Regions from separate parts of the Homo sapiens genome. Here region 1 is linked to region 2. Evidence: promoter capture Hi-C in 16 types of primary human blood cells and fetal thymus (Javierre and others, 2016). All regions are on one chromosome and are shown on one strand. Each heading gives the region's core, a stretch centred on a gene start or on the middle of the fragment in contact. The rest is flanking DNA. Distances are from core to core; before and after follow the strand shown.

What was found. Contacts are between HindIII fragments. The CHiCAGO score rates a contact against its expected background, and 5 or more counts as called.
Region 1: a contact is called between a fragment that was not itself captured here and the fragment with the promoter of AP1G1 in region 2, in 2 of 17 cell types (total B cells and total CD8 T cells). The highest score is 9.0, in total B cells.

The regions. Positions count from the first base shown.
Region 1 is chr16:71,482,568-71,487,507 of GRCh38, forward strand. ZNF19 (zinc finger protein 19) reads right to left here. Exons shown (of 6, transcript NM_006961.4): 2 at 2,022-2,181. Among named protein-coding and RNA genes, the nearest start is that of ZNF19, 4.3 kb to the right of the region's middle. RefSeq lists an enhancer at 1,301-2,210 and a silencer at 1,778-2,057. The HindIII fragment of the contact is 274 bases long and covers 1,361-1,634 here.
Region 2 is chr16:71,806,536-71,811,489 of GRCh38, forward strand. It overlaps AP1G1 (adaptor related protein complex 1 subunit gamma 1), which reads right to left and starts at 2,299. Exons shown (of 23, transcript NM_001128.6): 1 at 2,228-2,299. LOC124903714 (a long non-coding RNA gene) reads left to right here and starts at 2,423. Exons shown (of 2, transcript XR_007065110.1): 1 at 2,423-2,667. RefSeq lists enhancers at 1,430-2,077, 2,021-2,710, 3,271-3,350. The HindIII fragment of the contact is 17,673 bases long and covers 2,152-4,954 here.

The DNA of each region.
Region 1 (4,940 bases), core at 248-2,747, 320 kb before region 2:
TTTGAACCTTTAATTTTTCCCAAATGAGAAGACAAGGCTAAGAGAATAATTTCTTCTACCAAGATCACTCAGCTGGTGAATGGATGAACTCGGATCCCACACTAGATCTGCCAGGCTTCAAAGGTCATGTTTTTGTCTGTTTGTTTGTTTGTTGAGACAAGAATCTCACTGTCACCTGGGCTGGAGTGCAATGGCGTGATCTCAGCTGACTGTAACCACGGCCTCCCAGGTTCAAGCAATTCTCCTGCCTCAGCCTCTCAAGTAACTGGGATTACAGGCATGTGCCACCACACCTGGCTCATTTTTGTAATTTTAGTAGAGACAGGGTTTCATCATATTGCCCAGACTAGTCCTCAAACTACTGGCCTCTAGCGATCCACCCACCTCGGCCTCCCAAAGTGATGGGATTACAGGCGTGAGGCACCGCCTCCTGCTTTTAATAACTACACTAAATTCTTTCCAATAGTAATCCTAACAGGAATGCTTTTAGAACTGGCAAAATGATTTTAAGGTTAACATAAAATAATAGACAAGAATGGCCAAGAAAACTCAGGAAAAAAATCTCAGAGCAAGTCTTCCTTTACTTGGACCTGGAGCAGGCATCTTTTTTGTTCATTGCCCCACTCAAGGGCCATGAAAACCAGAAACTGATTACCAAAGGACCCTGAAGGGCCAACTCAACACACTAAAACATCTGGGTTATTGTTTTAACTATATCATCTCTTACAGACACTTTGTATTCTAGTTAAACAGCAATATTCTATAAAAAGCCAGCATCTTCCCTACAGGGACTTAATGCATGATGCTGTTTTCTGCGAGCCTCATCTTGTGCCGCCACCCTCTTTTCTCTTAGTTTAGCTACAATGGCCTTCTTTCAGTTTCCTCTGTGCTAACTCAGGACCTTCATACCTGCTGTTTCTTCTGTATGAACTACTCTTCTCCAATCTCAGAACCATTACAACTGAGATTCTCTGCCTGCCATTCTCTCCAGTAATCTAGCCGCCATTCTCTCCAGTAATCTATCCACCCTTCACCTTCAGATCATGATCGCTCTACAGACCAGGTCAGGTGTCTCTGTTAAACACTCCACTCGCACCGTACTCCTTTTCCTATATACCACTTAATCCAGTTTGAAATTATATATTGATTTGTGCTTTCTTCATTCAACAAATATTTATCTCATACATATTTCATGCAAGGCCACGTGTGACACACAACAGATGAAGTAGAGAGAGAAGGGGCATGATCCTGTCCCTCGCAGAGCTTAGTCTAAAGGAAAGACACATTAATCAAGATTCTCTCAAATAACTTTTAAGTCCACAATTTAAATCACTGCCAGGGGAAACTAACGTGGATGGGAAGCTTAAGAAAATAAATTAACTAAGGTATGAAGGAAATCTTTACAAAAGTAACAGCATACGCAAAAGCCATGTTCTAGTAGTGAAGGATCAAGAACACTGTAGTAGCAGTCAAAGGAGAGTGTGCTGTTAGATGATGCTGAAGAAGTCACAAGGGACAAAGCCACACTTTGTGCACGTCAAGAACTTGGTCTTCGATCTACGTGCACTAAGTCACGGGCAGGTGGAGTGAAATAACCAGATTTGATTAATACATGACTTTCCCATTGGGCGGAAAGCTTCCTGGGGGCGGGGCCCACGCCCCGCCTCATTCACCGCTGCATCCCCGGAATCTAGAGCAGGAACTGGCACATAGCTGCTCAGTAAGCAGCTGTGGCCCAATGAGCAGATGGGGTTTGGGCGGCGTCGAGAACAGAGGCGTCCCTTCCATCCAGCCGCCCATATCCACAGCCTCCATTTCCCAAGGCGCCGATGCAGGCGTGGGGGAGCGAAGGCACCAGAGGGAGACCGGGACCGGCCCGCGAGCAGCCTCCGCTCCCCGGTCCCGGAGGGGCCGCCCTGTCTCCCTCCACTGAGGCAGCAGGGACGAAGCCGACAGCCTTCTCTAGAGGTGCAGTGCCTGAGCCTAGCAAGGACTCCTAGGCGACAAACCCCAACACTCACCTCAGGAAAAACAGAAAGCGGTGCGTGAACGGAAGTGCGTCACTACTTTGGCCTTGCACCCAGGCTCACACGCGTACTCTCTAGGATGCCGGAGCGGTCTTCTCAGTGGTTGTGTGGTTTTACTCCCGGGAGGAGTTTCCACCCGGGGATCCTCAGAGACCTTGAATAGGAAAGAAAGTATATCATTGTTTTCGCTAATCTCTAACCGAAATTTAGCATTTTCTTCTATGTTGGCAACAAACTACTGTAGTATCAGCCGTATCTGTGACTGTCACCGATAGAAATCACAGATATTTTCATATCACATTACAGTTGATGCAGATCTCAGAATATGGCTATTCTCGTCACTAATTTGAAATTGTCCTTGTTGTTATCGGGCCCACCTCAAGTCTTGTCATTACATTTCATCACGTTGGTAAAGCTGCACTTATATTTCTGTATCACAAATTCTAAAAAACTGTTTAATTGTATGTTCATTGGTTTTGAAGGTGTCACCAGACTGCCAAAGGGTCTTTGCACAAAAAAGCTGTCCTCCTTAGAGGTAAAGACCCAGACACGTTAAGAAAGACCAGGTCAGCAGGCCAGGCGCGGTGGCTCACGCCTGTAATCCCAGCACTTTCGGAGGCCAAGGCGGGCAGATCACCTGAGGTCAGGAGTTCGAGACCAGCCTGGTCAACGTGGTGAAACCTCGTCTCTACTAAAAATACAAAAATTAGCCAGGCGTAATGGCGGGCACCTGTAATCCCAGCTACTCGGGAGGCTGAGGCAGGAGAATTGCTTGAACCCGAGAGGTGGAGGTTGCAGTGAGCCGAGATTGTGCCATTGCACTCCAGCCTGGGCGACAAAAGCAAAACTCCATCTCAAAAAAAAAAAAAACCAAAAAAACAAAAAAAAACAAAAAGAAAGAAAGACCAGGTCTAAGGAGGGATATATTAAGTAACTATTTAGGAAGTGAAAACGGTGGACATTTTTTTTTTTAATGACTGAATACAAGGCAGCCAGAGCAATCTATAATAGCCATGAATTTTGGATGACCTGATAGATGAAGGTGCCATTAGCTGAGATCAGGAATTGAAGAAGAGGAGCTGGTTTCAGGCAAGAAGGTGAAAGAATTTAGTTTCAAAAATACTGAACACACACACACACACCTGCCTTATTAACATTTAATTCACACACCATACAATTCATCAATGCAGAGTATAAAATTAAATAGGTTTTAGTGTGTTCAGAGACTTGCGCAAACATCACCACAATCAGTTTCAGGACATTTTCATCTCCCCAAAGGAACCTCATAACCATCAGCAGTCACTCTCCATTTTCCCTCTGGTAAGCAGAATGGTGTTTTGTTCCCCTCAAAGATGTATATGTCCTAATCTCTAGAACCTGTGAGTACATTAAGTTACATGACAAAGGGAAATTGAGGTTGCAGGTGGAATTAAGATTGCTAGTCAGCCAACTTTAAGATTATCTTGGGGCTAGGCACAGTGGCTCACATCTGTAATCCCAGCACTGTGGGAGGCCCAGGTGGGCAGATCACTTGAGCCTGGGAGTTCAAACCAGCCTGGGCAACATGACAAAACCCTGTCTCTACCGAAAAAAAAAAAAAAAAAATTCCAAAAAGGAACAAAAATTGGCCAGGTGTGGGCACACGCCTGTAGTCCCAGCTACTAGCTGAGTTGGGAGGATCACTTGAGCCTGGGAGGTCAAGGCTGCAGTGAGCCTTGATTGAGCCACTGCACTCCAGCCTGGGCAACAAAGCGAGACCCTGTCAAAAAAAAAAAGATGATTATCTTGGATTATTCAGGTGGGCCCAGTGTAATCATAAGAGTTCTTGAACGTGAAAGAGGGAATTGAAAGAGAATCACAAAAATGACAGCACAAGAAGGACTTGGCCCAACCTCACTGGCTTTGAAGATGGAGGAAGGGGCCAAGGGTCAAGGAAAGTGGGTGGCCTCCAGAAGATGAAAAAGGCAAGGAAACAGATTCTCTCCTTAGTCTAAATCCTGAATTTATACCAGTGGGACCCATTTTGGATTTCTGACCTCCAAAACTCTAAGATAAATTAGTGTTGTTTTACGCCACTACTCATGGCAATTTGTTACAGCAGCAATAGAAAATTAATAGACACACATGTACATACCTCTCTTCTTCCCCCAATTCTAGACAACCACTTTCTTTATAGATTTGCCTATTCTGGATATTTACATTACATAAATGACCATTAAGTCTGGATATAAAACAAAAACAAGTCTCTATTGTTAATTTTATCGGTTTTTAGAAACATGGGAACCCGTATGTTTACTTGGTGAAGAGTTGAGTATATTCTTGGCCAGAAGATGGGAACACTAAAATTAAAAACAAAAAGAGTTGGGAATAACTTATTTTTGTTTTGCAGGGAGTGGAAAGGAAGAAAATTTCCACTCTCATTTGTCTGGAAAGTCTCCCAGAGAGTTTTCAAGATCATTAATAATAATAGCTAATTCACACTGACCTGTCTTCCCAGCCAATGTATCACCTCTAAGGAAATGTATACTTGATATGTTTTGGCTCTGTGTCCCCAGGCAAATCTCATGTTGAATTATGATCTTCAGTGTTGGGGGAGGAACATGGTGGAAGGTGATTGGATCATGGGGGCGGATTTCCCCCTTGCTGTTCTCGTGATAGTGAGTTCTCATGTGATCTGGTTGTTTCGAAGTGTGTTGCGCTTCCTCCTTTGCTGTCTCTCTCCTGCTGGCCATGTGAAGATTGTGCCTGCTTCCCCTTTGCTTTCCACCATGATTGTAAGTATCCTGAGGCCTCCCCAGCCATGCCTCCTGTACAGCCTGTGGAACTGTTAGCCAATTAAACCTCTTTTCTCCATAAATTACCCAGTCTCAGGTATATCTGTATAGCACTGTGACAACGGACTAATACAATACT
Region 2 (4,954 bases), core at 1,049-3,548:
CCCGCCTGAATGACATTTAAATACCAATATATTAAAGCATGAAAAACACTGAGTTAACTAACATCTATGTGATAGCTCTTCTAACACCTTACTTGAAAAGTCTAAGTCAGAAATGGAACATTTCAGTAGTAACTGCGAGGGCATACTTACTAAATGAGTGAGCATTACATAGGTGTTCAGTGTTTGACAGTTCCTTTAAACCAAAAGAGAAAATTCCATTGCTTCAGGGTAATACAGAACTCACGTATCTAATAGTAACTAATATATTTTTGAAAAATCTGCTTAAATAACAAGATCACTGAGTATTTAAACTGAAAATATTGTTTTCTTCTGAGACATCATATGACCTATAGAGGAATTTATCTACAATCTCATTTCAATAACCTGATAATAATAATGCATCTATAAGTGGCTTAGCAATATTAAAAAGCTTGACTCAATTCAAGTTATAAATTTAAACTTCAACCACTAGACTGTGATCTCAAATAAGTTAATTTCTCTTTTGCAGATGTGAAAACCCAGGCTGAGATGAAATAAGGGTGATTCAATCACACTCGCCTAACTTGAAACGTAGGAAATGTATCAGTGAATAACTGTGAAATACTTTTTGCCAGGCACGGTGGCTCACGCCTGTAATCCTAGCACTTTGGGAGGCCGAGGCGGGCGGATTACCTGAGCTCAGGAGTTCGAGATCTGCCTGGGCAACATGATGAAACCCCATCTCTACTAAAATACAACAACAAAAAATTAGCCGGGCGTGGCGGCGTGTGCCTGTAGTCCCAGCTACTTGGGAGGCTGAGGCAGGAGAACTGCTTGAACCCGGGAGGCGTAGGTTGCAGTGAGCCGAGACCGTGCCACTGCACTCCAGCCTGGAGACAGAGGGAGACTTCGTCTCAAAAAATAAATAAATAAAAATAAAGACATACTTTTTATTCAAGCATGCTAGACTGCAAACATGCCTTTAGAATAAAAGTGACGAGATTACGAGTACTTAGAGGGTTCATATTTTTCAAACGTGAAAGTTAGGGTGTGTGACAAGTTAGGTATTTGACAAGTATTCTAGGGAACGGTGGAAGTGAATATTTAAAATTCAGCTATCCCCAGAAAAACCCAATACATGAAATCATTACAAGTATTTTTTAGAATCAGTCAGCAAAGATCATTACTGTACAAACACTTCAAAGTTAAGGTCACTAAGAAAGCACTAACTCCTCCCTTCTGTTAACTAATCACTGTAAAGCAGCCCAACTCTCCTTTCTACCTACCTCAGATTAATATTTTTCTCCATGGACAGATTTCCGTGCTCAGGGATATATAATAGGGGAGAAAAAAAAATACCACACAAGTGTCAGTAAGCACCAAAAAGCTAAGTATTCAGCACAGGGAGGGAATCCACATATGAGAAAACATTTGACAGCTCTTGCCTCCCAAAAGCCATTTAATCTGCTTCATAAACATAATCTGCTTCATAAACATTACCCTGAGCGAGTGGTTCGATGGATCTCCTACACCGAGTCCTAACCGGGAAACACAATCAACCGAACCGTCCCGACTCTTTCAGGCAATCAGGAAGACCGGGAGAATTATTAGACGCTGACGTCCGCAGGGCCAGGAGCTGAGAAAAGGGTAAACAGTATACTCGCAGGTAGGTTGAAAAAAACAAAACAACAACATATACACACACACACGAAAAATTGGGAAAGAAGTTGGTCGGAAGGTTAGAGAGAGGCGAGGCCGATGTCCGGTTCCGAGAGGACGGCACTGCAGGGGCAGGCAGCGATTAACTGGGCATTTGGATATGCTGGGAGTTATCTGACAGACCTGACACGGGTACAAGACACAAGAACGCTGATACGTGGCTCAGAGAAGACACGCGGGGGTGGGGCCCGCCCCGCTAAACCCCAGGCTCCCTGAATGAGCCCTCAAAGATCGCAGCCTGAGAAAGTCAAGGGTTCAAGGAGGCCCGTACCGGCGGGGCAACGCCACAACACGGAACGCCGCGGCGCGCGGAACCTCCCGGTCCGAGGCCTCGGGGTCGGCCCTCCAGAAGTCGGAGCAGCCCCTGGGGCTCCCGGCCTCTCCTGGCCCAGCTTCTCTGTCTTCTCTTCTCAACACCCACAGCCTGGGACTGGACCCCTGAAACTGAAAGGAAGCTTCCGGTCGAGCGCCCGCGGCAGCGGCGGGGCAAAAGCAGCAATATGCTCTCAGCGCCGGGAGTGACACTCACCGGCCCGAAACCTCGAATGAAACCAGCAGCTCCGGGGGCGGCGGCAGCAGTGGCAGCAGGAACCGAACATCCAAAATGGCGGCTCCCTCGGCCTCACCACCGCTACCGCAGGCGGAGGGATCCTGAGGAAGGAGGGAGTTTTTAACTAACTTCACACACTATTGAGGAAACTTCGCTCCCTGTCCTCCTCTCCTGGTCGTTTCCGTGTCCTCGTACTGCAACTTATCGTGCCTTTTCTCTCGAATTATCCAAGAACTCGGACCCTGCCGAGGACTATTTGCCAAGGAGGAGGCGACTGCTCCTGGCAGAGCGACGCAAACGTAGCAAGGATCGGGGCTGTCACTGATGACGCGAGACGCTGCTGCCGAGTCACCGCTGCGATGAGTCTGAGCGAGAAAGATCCGGCCTACCCCGTAGCGGACGGACATTGGTTCCGCTTGGTGAGGGGGTAGGGGGGTGGGGGGTAGGGGGGTGGGGGGGTAGGGGGGGTGGAGCTGGGCTACCAGGAAGCGGTGGAGCCACCTGGAGGGGGCGGAGCTAAGTCAGGTAGCCCAGGAAGTGAGAGCAAGCGAGACAGGTGGGGGCGGAGAAGACAGCAGGGCTGAAAAGGTCTTCGTCCACGGGAATCCCGAACTCTTTGCTGTCTCCTTTAAGATTTTTGCTTTCTTTATAACTTAAGGAGCATGCTCCAGGTGGTATTCTATGGTTTTATGGTGTCTTTGCAACATATTTTATGAAGAGTTAAGAGGATGACTGAAAAGAATGGATTCCACGCCCGGTACCGCGGTGCTTGCACTGCTCAAGTCACTTAAACTCTCCAGGGATTCAATTTCCTCATATGTAGAAAGAAGACTTGGACTCATGTTAGCTGAAACCCTTACAGAATGGGCTTTCGGTCTATGACTCCATGAATTAATAACCAGGGCCAAAGAAAGTCTAACCAGACAGTTCCTAACCTGATAAATAATTACTAACATATGACGTGAGTCTTTTCCATGTGAATGTAAAGAGGGCCTGATATCTTGGCCTGTTTAAAGGAAAGGTGACCTACCTAGACTAAAATCCTTCTGCTAGATTGGCAACAAAGTACAATACAACACAGCAGCAGGCTGGGTGCCAAAGAGAACAGAACCAACCACACAAAAAAAATTTTTTTTTTTTTTTTGAGACAAAGTCTCGCTCTGTTGCCCAGGCTGGAGTGCAGTGGCGGGATCCCGGCTCACTACAACCTTGCCTCCCGGGGTCAAGCAATTTCTCGTGCTTCAGCCTCGCAAGTAGCTGGGATTACAGGCTCCCGCCACCACGGCCGTCTAATATTTGCATTTTTAGTAGAGAGAGGGTTTCGCCATGTTGGCCAGGCTGGTCTTGAACTCCTGACCTCAGGTGATCTGCCTGCGTCGGCCTCCCAAAGTGTGGAGATGACAGGTGTGAGCCACCGGCCTGGCCAGAACTAACCACAAATCTTGAGTTTAGGATTTGGGTGTCATAGAGAGAAGGTTGCACTTTTTTCCTTAGTCATTTTCATGCAGGGATTTCAAAACACTTAACAAAAATTGCTCTAAGTAGGCCGGGCACAGTGGCTGACGCATGTAATCCCAGTACTTTAGGAGGCCGGGGTGGGCGGATCACCTGAGGTCAGGAGTTCGAGACCAGACTGGCCAACATGGTGAAACTCCATCTCCACTAAAAATACAAAATTAGCCGGGCATGGTGGTGGGCACCTGTAATCCCAGCTACTCGGAAGGCTGAGACAGGAGAATCGCTTGAACCTGGGAGGCAGAGGTTGCAGATAGCCGAGTCTGGGCGACAGAGTGAGACCCTGTCTCACAAAAACAAAAAAAAATTGAACCAAGTAGGCCCATCTGTACAATTTTGTCCCTGAACTACTGGGGCATGCCAAGTGGCTGGAAAGAAAGGAGGCCATGGGTGCGATAATAATTATCATTTGTATTATTAAATATTGATATCACATTGTTCATAAGGCACTTTCATGTGTATAATCTAATCTGACCCTCTGGACAACCTCCTGAGTCAGGCTAGGCAAGCATAAGTAACTTAGTTTTACAAATAAGGAAAAAGAGGCTCCAAGAAACTAACTTGGCTAAAAGACACATCCTCTCCCCTCCTCCACTGGGGTTCTGCTACAGAGCTATAGAGTGCCTTTTTTTTTGAGACAGAGTTTCACTCTTGTTGCCCGAGCTGGAGTGCAATGGCGTGATCTTGGCTCACTGCAGCCTCCGCCTCCCAGGTTCAAGTGATTGTCCTGCCTCAGTCTCCCAAGTAGCTGGGACTACAGGCGCATGCCACCACGCCCAGCTAATTTTTTGTATTTTTAGTAGAAACGGGGTTTCACCATGTTACCCAAGCTGGTCTCGAACTCCTGACCTCAGGTGATTCACCCACCTCGGCCTCCCAAAGTGCTGGGATTACAGGCATGAGCCACCATGCCAGGCCAGAGTGCCATTTTATAAATTAGCATAGGGTACCACAATCTTCCACCACCCCTACCTACCCACCCACCTACCTACCTACCTACCTACACACATACCTACACTCTCAGGGTGGATGGAGTCAACCCCCAACAAGTGGTTTAGAGAACAGAATGTTTACAGAATTCAGATCCTCTGCCATGCTGCTACTGTACAGTGCAACCATGGACTACAAGGCTAGTAAATAGTGGAATGAAGCCAAAACACAATTTCCTCTGAGGTATAGCTATGCAGGGAA